Regions from separate parts of the Homo sapiens genome. Here regions 1 and 3 are each linked to region 2. Evidence: promoter capture Hi-C in 16 types of primary human blood cells and fetal thymus (Javierre and others, 2016). All regions are on one chromosome and are shown on one strand. The core of a region is centred on a gene start or on the middle of the fragment in contact, and the rest is flanking DNA. Distances in the headings are between cores, read along the strand shown. Region 1 has its middle 13 kb from the start of SULT1A1. Region 2 holds the start of NPIPB7 (nuclear pore complex interacting protein family member B7). Region 3 has its middle 18 kb from the start of SBK1.

Evidence for each region. Contacts are between HindIII fragments. The CHiCAGO score rates a contact against its expected background, and 5 or more counts as called.
Region 1: a contact is called between a fragment that was not itself captured here and the fragment with the promoter of NPIPB7 in region 2, in 1 of 17 cell types (neutrophils). The highest score is 6.7, in neutrophils.
Region 3: a contact is called between a fragment that was not itself captured here and the fragment with the promoter of NPIPB7 in region 2, in 1 of 17 cell types (naive CD8 T cells). The highest score is 7.2, in naive CD8 T cells.

What each region holds. Positions count from the first base shown.
Region 1 is chr16:28,621,604-28,625,033 of GRCh38, reverse strand. It overlaps a transcript of SULT1A1 not described here. Among named protein-coding and RNA genes, the nearest start is that of SULT1A1, 13 kb to the right of the region's middle. RefSeq lists silencers at 1,362-1,531, 1,582-1,631 and an enhancer at 1,722-1,851. The HindIII fragment of the contact is 9,807 bases long and covers 1-3,430 here.
Region 2 is chr16:28,469,950-28,473,672 of GRCh38, reverse strand. NPIPB7 (nuclear pore complex interacting protein family member B7) reads left to right here and starts at 1,337. Exons shown (of 7, transcript NM_001396030.1): 1 at 1,337-3,300. The coding sequence starts at 3,235. It also overlaps a transcript of CLN3 not described here. The HindIII fragment of the contact is 21,132 bases long and covers 1-3,723 here.
Region 3 is chr16:28,272,446-28,275,949 of GRCh38, reverse strand. It overlaps a transcript of SBK1 not described here. Among named protein-coding and RNA genes, the nearest start is that of SBK1, 18 kb to the left of the region's middle. The HindIII fragment of the contact is 1,929 bases long and covers 452-2,380 here.

The sequences.
Region 1 (3,430 bases), core at 872-3,371, 150 kb before region 2:
AAAGTGTTGGGATTACAGGCATGAGCCACCGTGCCCAGTTCCCTTCTTAAATAGTTTAAAGGGGGAGAAGAAAGAAAAAGACAGATTTTCTTCCCTTCCACTACCAAAACAGGCAAAACACACCAGAACACTTTGCTTAGCATTTCTTTTCTTTTCTTTTCTTTTTTTGAGAAAGAGTCTTCCTCTGTCAGCCAGGGTGGAGTGCAGTGGGGCGATCTTGGCTCACTTCAAGCTCCACCTCCTGGGTTCAGGCCATTCTCCTGCCTCAGCCTCCCGAGTAGCTGGGACTACAGGTGCCCACCACCACGCCCAGCTAATTTTTTGTATTTTTAGTAGAGACGGGATTTCACCGTGTTAGCCAGGATGGTCTGGATCTCCTGACCTCGTGATCCGCCCGCCTTGGCCTCCCAAAGTGCTGGTATTACAGGAGTGAGCCACCGTGCCCGGCCGTCCCTTCATTTTTTAAGATAAATTCACATACCATAAAACTTACCATTTTATTTTCTCTCTCTTTTTCTTTCTTTCTTTCTTTTTTTTTTTTTTTTTTTTTTTTTTTTTGCAGGCTGGAGTGCAGTGGCCCTATCGTGGCTCACTGCAACCTTGAATTCCTGGGCTCAAGAGATCCTCCCACCTCAGACTCCCAAGTAGCAGTAGCTGAGACTATCAGTGCGCACCACCAAGTCTGAGTAATTACAATACTTTTTTCTTTTTCTTTTTCTTTTTTTTTTCGTAGAGATGGGGTCTTCCTATTTTGTCCAGGCTAATCTGGAACTCCTGCCCTCAAAGGATCCTCCTGTCTAATTCTCTCAAAGTGCTGGGATTACAGGCATGTGCCACCGCACCCGGCCAAATGCACCTCCTTTTTTCAAGTGTACAATTCAATGGTTTTTAATATATTCACAAAGTCATGGAACCATCACACCTATCTAATTTCAAAATGTTTTCATCACTCCAAAAAATAACCCCATATGGGAGGCCGCGGCGGGCAGATCACTCGAGACCAGCCTGGCCAACATATTGAAACCCCGTCTCCACTAAAAATACAAAAATTAGTCGGGCGTGATGGCGCACGCGTGTAGTCCCAGCTGCTCGGGAGGCTGAGGCAGGAGAATCGCTTGAACCCGGGAGGCGGAGGTTGCAGTGAGCCCAGATCGCCCCACTGCACTCCAGCCTGGGCGACAGAGCGAGACTCCGTCTCAAAAATATCTAATTAATTAATAAAAATAAAATAAATAAATAAATAAATAACCCCATGCCTTCTGCCTCTGTGGCTTTGCCTATTCTGGGTATTTTGTGTCAACGGACCCATGCATGGGGGTGGGCCGGGCACCTTTCAAACGTTCAGCCCCCACGACGGCCCGTGGCCTCCGGATTGGACGGCACGAGCTGGGTGTGCGCGGGGCGCCCAACCGCTCAGGAGCTCCTGGAGGAGGCAGGTGCAGGTGCCGGCTGCTGCAGCGCAGTAGCTGCTGGAGGCTGGCGAGGCCCGGAGGCGGTGCAGGAAGCCTCCGACCACGCGGGCTCCTGATCGCGGGCGCCCACAGCGCGGACATGGCGGGCTGGTGGCCGGCGTTGTCGCGCACGGCCCGGCGCCACCCGTGGCCCACCAACGTGCTGCTCTACGTTGCTCGAGCAACGTAGCTCTACGCTCTACGAGCGTGCCGTAGCTCGCTCGTCTCCGCCGGGGACGTGCTGCAGCAACGGCTGCAGGGCCGCTAGGCCGACTGGCGCCAGACGCGGCGCGTGGCCACGTTGGTGGTGACCTTCCACGCCAACTTCAACTACGTGTGGCTGGGCCTGCTGGAGCGCGCGCTCCCGGGCCGAGCGCCGCGCGCCATGCTGGCCAAGTTGCTGTGCGACCAGGTGGTCGGTGCGCCCATCGCGGTCTCGGCCTTCTACGCCGGTGAGGGGCCGGGGGGGGAACCTGGGGGGTGGGACCAGTATTGGGGGACTGGAGGCAGGGACTTGGGGATCAAGCGGCTGGAGGGAGGGCGCTGCAGGAGCCTGGGGACCCGGGCAGGAGCCGGGGCTCTGAGACCGGAGCTGCTTCAGAGGCCTGAAGGGCCAGGGCAAAGGCTGGAGGCTGGGGTGTTTGATTGCGAGAAGTTGCAGGAGGCACTGGCTGGGGAGCCGAGAAATTGGGGAGCCAGAGGTACAGCAGGTCAGGAATTTAGAGGACTAGGGTCGGGGCTCAGACTCTGGGGTTGGGTGTAGGCCAAGGCTGGAGGTAGGCAGGGCTGCGGAGGTCTTTGCCCCCTGAAAAAGGCCCACGGGAAAATAAAGGAGATCCCAGTTCAAGGCCATAGCAGCTGCAATGACCGTGAACCAATCGTGGGACAGGGAAGGAACCGACCTGCTGTTCAGAAAATCCACGCCTGGGGCCCCGGGGCCAACACAGGAACAAAATGCAAGGGGACCCGTGACCCTGGGGGGCAGAGCAGGTGGAATCTGAGGTTGGGCCTGGATCTTCAGCAAATTCATGCCCAGGGGCCTAGTCCTGCTTTGGTAACAAGATTTTCCCCTGGGGTCTCACGGAAAACATCAAGGGACCTTGGATCCTTGCCATAGAGGACTATATACCTGTGAGGGTTCAGGGAACCCTCTCCTTAGAAAATCCGACCCGGGCCTGGGGTGTGGGGGACAGGGGCTTGACTGTGGAAACCTTCTCTACTGCGTACAATAAGAACAATGGAAATGTTACCTGAAAAATACCGGGGTTCATTCCCTTAACGAGTCACAAATGACTCCACCAAGAGGCGGGTTTTGATCAATGGGAGTTTTACTTGGCACAAGAAAGGAAGACACTGGGCATATTCTCCCAAGTAGTGTGTCCCCCAGAGAAAGAGACAGGAGGGTTTTATGGGGTGATGGAGAAAGGAGAGGGTGCATGATTGCATGTAGAGTAGGGGTCCCAGTGAGTCATGATGCTAGCGCATAGGTTGCATAGGTTATAGTCATGAAGCTATAGCTTCTCCCGGGGTGAAGACTTTAGCATGGTAATGAGGAGAGTTAACTTGGGTTCATCTGTAAGTAACCTGGGGTCATTTAGGAGCTGATTTAAACAAACAGGGTGACCTCATTCCACCCAGGGCTGGGGAAGAACAGGTTGAGGTCAGGAGGCTGTAAAACAGGCTGATCACTCAAGTTGGTTAAATTCTTGTAATCTTTGGAGATCCTCCATCTGCTCACAGGAGGGTCCCTGTGGCCTCTATCATCATTGCAATTTCTATAGCCTTGAAGGGGATGGGGTGGGTAACTGGGGAGAAAATCTCTATGGGTCTTAAGCCTGACGGGGTCAGTGGGTCAGGAGAACAGACAGCCGGGGAGCTAGGGCCTCCTGTTTTATCAGAAGGTCTGTGCCTGGTCCCGGCGTGTGATTTGCAGACTAGATTTGCAAACAGCTTCCTAGCAACTGTTAAAGAAGTCTTGT
Region 2 (3,723 bases), core at 88-2,587:
TTGCAAATATTTTCTCCCATTCTGTGTTGTCTTTTTACTTTTTTGATATTGTCTTTTGGTACGGAAAGACACTTATTTTGATGAAGTCCAATTTATCTATTTTTTGTTTGGTTGCTTGTGCTTCTGGTAACATATCTAAGTGGGAGCCAGGTGCAGTGGCTCATGCCTGTAATCCCAGCACTTTGGGAGGCCAAGGCGGGAGGTTTGCTTGAGACCAGGAGTTCAAGACCAGCATGAGCAACATTGCAAGGTTCTATCTCTATAAAAAATTAAAATAATGATAAAAGGAGGCCGGGCGTGGTGGCTCATGCCTATAATCCCAGCATTCTGGGAGGCAGGAGGACAACTTGGGCCAGGAGTTCAAGACCAGTCTGGGCATCATGGCAAAAAAAGAAAAAAGAAAAAATTATCCTGGCAAGGTATGCCTGTAGTCCCAGCTACTTGGGAGGCTGAGGCGGGAGAATTGCTTGAGCCCGAGAGGTGGAGGTTGTAGTGAGCTGAGATTGAACCATTGCACTCCAGCCTGGGTGACAGGAATGAAACCCTGTCTCAAAAAATAAAAATAAAATAAGCCAGGTGTAGTGCTGCGTGCCTGTACTCCCAGCTACTCTGGAGGCTGAAGTGGGAGGATCACTTGAGCCTAGGAATTCGAGGCTGCAGTGAGCTATGATCATACCACTGCACCCCAATGTGGGCACAGAGCAAGACCCTATCTCTTAAAAAACAAACAAAGAGGGGCGGGGTGCAGTGGCTCACGCCTGTAATCCCAGCACTTTGGGAGGCTGAGGCGGGCAGATCACGAGGTCAGGAGATCGAGACCATCCTGCCTAACACGGTGAAACCCCATCTCCTTTTTTTTTTTTTTTTTTTTTGAAACAGAGTTTCATTCTTTTTGCCCAGACTCCCGGGTTCAAGCGATTCTCCTGCCTCAGCCTCCTGAGTAGCGGGGATTACAAGGGTGTGCCACCACACCCAGCTAATTTTTTATATTTTTAATAGAGGCGGGGTTTCACCGTGTTGGCCAGGCTGGCCTCAAACTCCTGACCTCAAGTGATCCGCCCACCTCGGCCTCCCAAAGTGCTGGGATTACAGGCGTGAACCAGCGCGCCCAGCCTCCTACATTTTCTTCTAAGAGTTTTATAGTTTTAGCTCTTACATTTAGATCTTGTTTTCATTTTGAATTAACTTTTTTGCAGGTGGTGTGATACAGCAGTCTGTGCAGAAAAAAGTTAACATAGTAGACCCTAACTGCTAACTTTATTTTTACTTTTATTTTTTATTTTGTTTAGAGACAGGGTTTTTGTCACCCAGGATGGAGTGAAGTGGCGTGATCATAGCTCACCGTAACCTTGAACTCCTGGGCTCCTCTGCCTCAGCCTCCCAATTAGCCACCACACCCAGCTACCTTTTGTACATTTTTTTGGTAGAGACGGTGTCTCACTATGTTGCCCAGTCTGGTCTCAAACTCCTCAGCTCAAATGATCTGCCCACCTTGACCTCCAGAGATACTGGGATTACAGGCGTGGGCCACTGCACCAGACCCAGGTTTATTCTTACACCAATACAACACTGTCTTAATTACTATAGCTTTGTAGTGAGCTTTTGAAAATAGGAAATGTGAATCCTCCAACTTTTTTTTTTTGGAGACGGAGTCTCGCTCTGTTGCTCAGACTGGAGTGCAGTGGCACTATCTCAGCTCACTGCAAACTCCATCTTCCAGGTTCAAGTGATTCTCCTGCCTCAGCCTACCAAGTATCTGGGACTACAGGCAGGTGCCACCATGCACAGATTCCTTGGACATCCCTGAGAGGTCAATCATGAAGGTCAACTTGGTTTTCTCCCCCTCATTTGGGTTCAGAATTTAAAGTCCACACACACAGGCAGTAAGATGATTATAGATAAGGACATCATCACTCGGTTTCGGATGTTAAATTGTCTAGGTGGGTTAGGGGTGATTTGAGATCACACAACCTTGTGCCACAAAGAGGAATTCCCAGGCCAGAGGGAGACATTTTATTGCCATGTTATGATCTTATCATTGAGTTGAAAGGCAATCTTGTTTCATTTTGGATTCTTTCTTATGTTTATGTCTTATAAGGGCACTTTGAATTTCCAAGCAAATAATAATTTTGAATTAGCTTTTAATCATTGACTTCTAGCACAGTTATATGATCAGAAACGTGCTGTGTGATTTGATTGCTCTCAAATATATTGAGATTTGCTGGAACAAAATAAGTCAGGTTAATTTTTGTAAATGTACCATGCTTGCTTAAAATGAATGTATCTACATTTGTTCCTGAGATACGGGTTGATGGACGGATGGCTACATGGATGTGATGGAGATGGTTTACTATCGGGACCTTCCGCATCCTGCTGATGTTTTGTTGCTTAGGATATGAATGGCTGAGCGGAGGCTGTAAAACCTGGCACTCTGCTTGGGTATGAGGTTCTTCCTGCCATCCTGCCATCATTTGTTTTTTATGTTTTGTCGCCAAAAGTGACCTTGAGGAACCCTGGGAGCTCAGGAAGGAAGGAGCGCCCAGAAGCAGGGACAGGGAGCTGGTTGGGGAGGACCAGAAATCAGGTTTGTGAAGGTTCCAGAGAGGACCTGTCCTTGCGAGGAGTGTGGGAGACTGAGATGGGGGAGGGGTCATTGGAATGATGCGGGCGCTACTTGGCATTGTCCATTGTGAGGCACCACCGGGGTCATCAGGGATTGGTGGAGAGGGAGTATAAAGCCCCAGGTTTGCTAAGGGAGGGCCCAGACCGAAGAAGGTTTGGCGGATAGCAGAACCTTTTTGTCTCCCTCTAATTGCTCCTAAGCCTCACGCTCCCTTGCCCCGCGTGTCCTGTTGCTTCCCTGATCTTCTCCGTGACCTGTAGCTAAACCTTCCACCAGCGCTTGAGAACTTAATTTGAACCGGATCCTTTCCCAGACCCCTTTCTTCTTCTCCTCCTCCACCTCCTCCAGGTGCCCAACAGCCCCCTTCTCCTCCTTTCCCTTCCCTTACTTCCCCCCTTCCCCTCCCCTTCCCCTCCCCCTCCCCTCCCCTTCCCCTCCCCTTCCCCTTCCCCTCCCCCTCCCCTTCCCCTCCCCCTCCCCTTCCCCTCCCCCTCCCCTCCCCCGCCCCAACTCAGATCCGGCCCCGGTCCCCGTCCCCTTCCCTCCCCCCTGCCCTAAGCCACCTCCACCTCTGTCCTGGCCGCCTCAGGGCACCCTGAAAGGATCAGGACATGCGGCTGCGCTTTTGGCTCCTCATTTGGCTCCTGCTGGGATTTATCAGCCATCAGCCCACCCCTGTGAGTAGACGCTGGACCCGCGGGGTTTCTTCCTTTTTACTGGGCTGTGTCACGCGGCATGAAATTACACAGCTCAGGCCTGTAATCCCAGCACTTTAGGGGGCCGAGGTGGGCAGATCACTTGAGTCCAGGAGTTGAAGACTAGCCAGGGCATCATGGCGAAACCCCATCTCTACAAAAAATTCCAAAAAAGATTAGTCGGGCCTGGTGGTGCGTACCTGTTATCCCAGTTACTGGAGAGGCTGAGGTGGGAGGATCGCTTGGGCCGAGGAGCTGGACGTTGCAGTGAGCTGAGATGGCCCCGCTGCACTCTTGTCTCTAACAAACAAAATGGACCAAAACAAAGTGAAATGTCATTTGATTTGTGTCATCTGGTTTGATGACTTTTTTTTTTTTTTTTTTAGACAGAGTCTCACTCTGTCG
Region 3 (3,504 bases), core at 167-2,666, 200 kb after region 2:
CTTTTTCTTTTTCTTTACCCTTTCCTTCCTTCCTTCGTTCCTTCCTTCCTTCCTTCCTTTTTTTTGAGACAGGGTCTTCCTCTGTCACCCAGGCCAGAGTGCTGGAGTGCAGTGGTGCAGTGATAGCTCACTGCAGCCTCTAACTCCTGGACTTAAGCGATCCTCCCACCTCAGCCTCCTGAGTAGCTGTTACTACAGGTATGCACCATGGTTGGCTAATTTTCTTATTTTTTGTAGACTCAGGGTTTCGTCATGTTGCCAAGGCTGGTCTTGAACTCCTGGGCTCAAACGATCCACCTGCCTTGGCCTCTCAAAGTGCTGGAATTACAGACATGAGCCACTGCACCGGGACCCCCTCATTCTTTTTCCAGGACTTTCTTGTGGGCACCAAGGCTCTGGCGTCTCCTCCTGACCCACGTCTTGAGCCATTTCTGGGCCCCCGAACAAAGCTTCTTGATGGAACTGGCTTCCTTCTCTCTGCTCTGCAACTTCCCAGTCTCTTTTGTTTGTTCTTATTATTTCTTCTCTTCTTATATACATATAGAAAATATACTTTTAATTTGTATTCAAGTTAGATATGCCCATTGTTTAGAATCAACGCACAGGGGCAGCCTCACCCCCATTTCTCACTTATTTTTTAAGAGATGGAGTCTCGCTCTGTCACCCAGGCTGGTGTGCATTGGTGTGATCACGGCTCACTGTAGCAATCCTCCCGCCTCAGCCTCCTGTGTAGCTGGGACCACAGGCACAAGCCCCAGTGACTGGCTAATTTGTAATTTTTTGTAGAGATGGGGGAGGGTCTCACTATATTGCCCAGGCTGGTTTCGAACTTCAGCCCTCTAGAGATCCTCCTGCCTCGGCCTCCCAAAGTGCTGGGGTTACAGCGTGAGCCACCACGCCCGGCCCCTTTTCCCACTTCATAAGGACAACCATCTCAACTCTTTTAGCTCGTGATTAGTCATTTTTACCTCCACATTTCCTACATACCATGTTTACATTGCTTCTTTTCCAGTTTTAGGCATTCCTTACCAACCTCCCACTTTGGGAGAAGAGGATTTAGCTCCTTATGTCCAACCACTCCCTCTCCCACCCACTCCCACATCCTATCCCCCCTCACATTACAGTTGCATTATAACATTGGTAAGACTGGAAATGTTTACATATTGTGGAAACGTTATTTACAGCTCTGTGTGGAACACTATGATTCCTTTCTTTTTTTTTCAATAATAGGCTTTATATTTTAGAGTAGTTTTAGGCTTACAGAACAATTGAGCAGAACGTGTTTCTTTTTATTTTTTGAGACAGAGTCTCACTCTCTCACCCAGGCTGGAGTGCAGTGGCTCGATCTCGGCTCACTGCAACCTCCGCCTCCTGGGTTCAAGCGATTCTCCTGCCTCAGCCTCCCGAATAGCTGGGATTACAGGCACCCACCACCATGCCTGGCTAATTTTTTTGTATTTTTAGTAGAGACGGGGTTTCACCATGTTGGCCAGGCTGGTCTTGGACTCCAGACCTCGGGTGCTCTGCCTTCCTCGGCATCCCAAAGTGCTGGGATTACATGTGTGAGCCATCGCACCTGGCCTGAGCAGAACGCGTTTGAATTGACCAAGAGACTTTCAGTTTTGTAGTATACTTCCTCTCCTCCCAACAAATTTCTCCTACCATTAACATCTTGTATCAGCGTGGTGCACTTGTTAAAACTGATGAACCAAGATTGATACATAGTTGCTAACTAAAGTTCATATGTTACATCATCGGGGCTCATTCTTTGTTTTGTAGAGTTCCATGGGTTTTGACAAATGTATGTTACAGGTCCACCCTCCCAGTATCATACAGAATAGTTTCACTGCCCTAAAAATCCACCATGCTGTACCTCTTCATCCCTCCCTCTCTCCCGCCAGCCCCCTGGCAACCACTGATCTTTTTATTCTCTTTAGTTTTGGTTTTTCCAGAATGTCATATCACTGGAGTCAGATAGTACTTTTCAGACTGGCTTCTTTCACGTAGCAATACACATTTAAGGTTCCTCTGTGTCTTTTGGGTGGCTTGATGGCTCATTTTATCACTGAATGTTCCATTGTATGGGTGTACCTATAGAAGGACATTGTCATTGTGGTTTCTTCCAAGTTTTGGCAATTATGAATAAAGCTGCTATAAATATTCATGTGCAGATAAGACACCAAAAACAGGCAGCAAAAACAAGAATAGACAAGTGGGGCTGGGCGCAGGGACTCTCGCCTGGAATCCCAGCACTGTGGGAGGCCAAGGTGGGTGGACTGCTTGAGCTCAGGAGTTTAAGACCAGCCTGGGTAACACGGCATAACCCCATCTCTACAAAAAAATGAAATGGACAAGTGGGACTACATCAAACTAAAAAGCTTCTGCTTAGCAAAAGAAACAATCTACACAGTGAAAAGACAACCTATGGCCGGGCATGGTGGCTCATGCCTGTAATCCCAGCACTTTGGGAGGCCGAGGCAGGCGGATCACCTGAGGTCAAGAGTTTGTTGAGACCAGCCTGGCCAAAATGGTGAAACCCCATCTCTACTAAAAATACAAAAATTAGCTGGGCATGGGGGCTCACGCCTGTAATCTCAGCTACTTGGGAGCCTGGGGCAGGAGAATTGCTTGAACCCAGGAGGCGGAAGTTGCAGTGAGCCGAGACTGCGCCATTGCACTCTAGCTTGGTCAATAAGAAAGAAACTCTGTCTCAAAAGAAAAAAAAAAAATCTGAAAGAGAGGCCAGGTGCGGTGGCTCACACCTTTAATCCAGCACTTTGGGAGTTCAAAGTGAAGGGACTGCTTGAGGCCATGAGTTCGAGACCAGCCTGGGCAACATAATGAGACCCTGTCTCTAAAAAAAGAAAAAAATAATTCTCAAAATGGTATTAGCACTCCTGTGTTCTTTACAACAATATTCACAATAGCCAAATGTAGAAATAACCCAAATGGGTTGAATGGATGAAAAAAATGTGATCTATACATGCAACAGGGACTACTACAATTAAGCCTTAAAAATATGCGATGACAGGCCAGGCATGGTGGCTCACGCCTGTAATCCCAGCACTTTGGGAGGCCGAAGTGGGTGGATCACAAGGTCAGGAGTTCGAGACCAGCCTGGCCAATATGGTGAAACCCTATCTCTACTAAAAATACAAAAATTAGCCAGGCGTGGTGGGGCATGCCTGTAGTCCCAGCTACTCAGGGGGCTGAGGCAGAAGAATCGCTTGAACCTGGGAGGCAGAGGTTGCAGTGAGCCAAGATCATGCCACTGCACTCCAGCCTGGGTGACAGAGTGAGACTCCGTCTCAAAAAAAAAAAAAAAAAAAAGAAAGAAAGAAAGAAAGAAAAAAAATATGTGACAACATAGATGAAACTCAAGGACATTATGCAAAGCAAAATAAGCCACAGAAGGACACATATCTCATAATTCCACTTATATGGGATATCTAAAGAAGTCTAATTCCTAGATTTTGGTTCTATAGTTGTCAGAGTTGCAGAAGA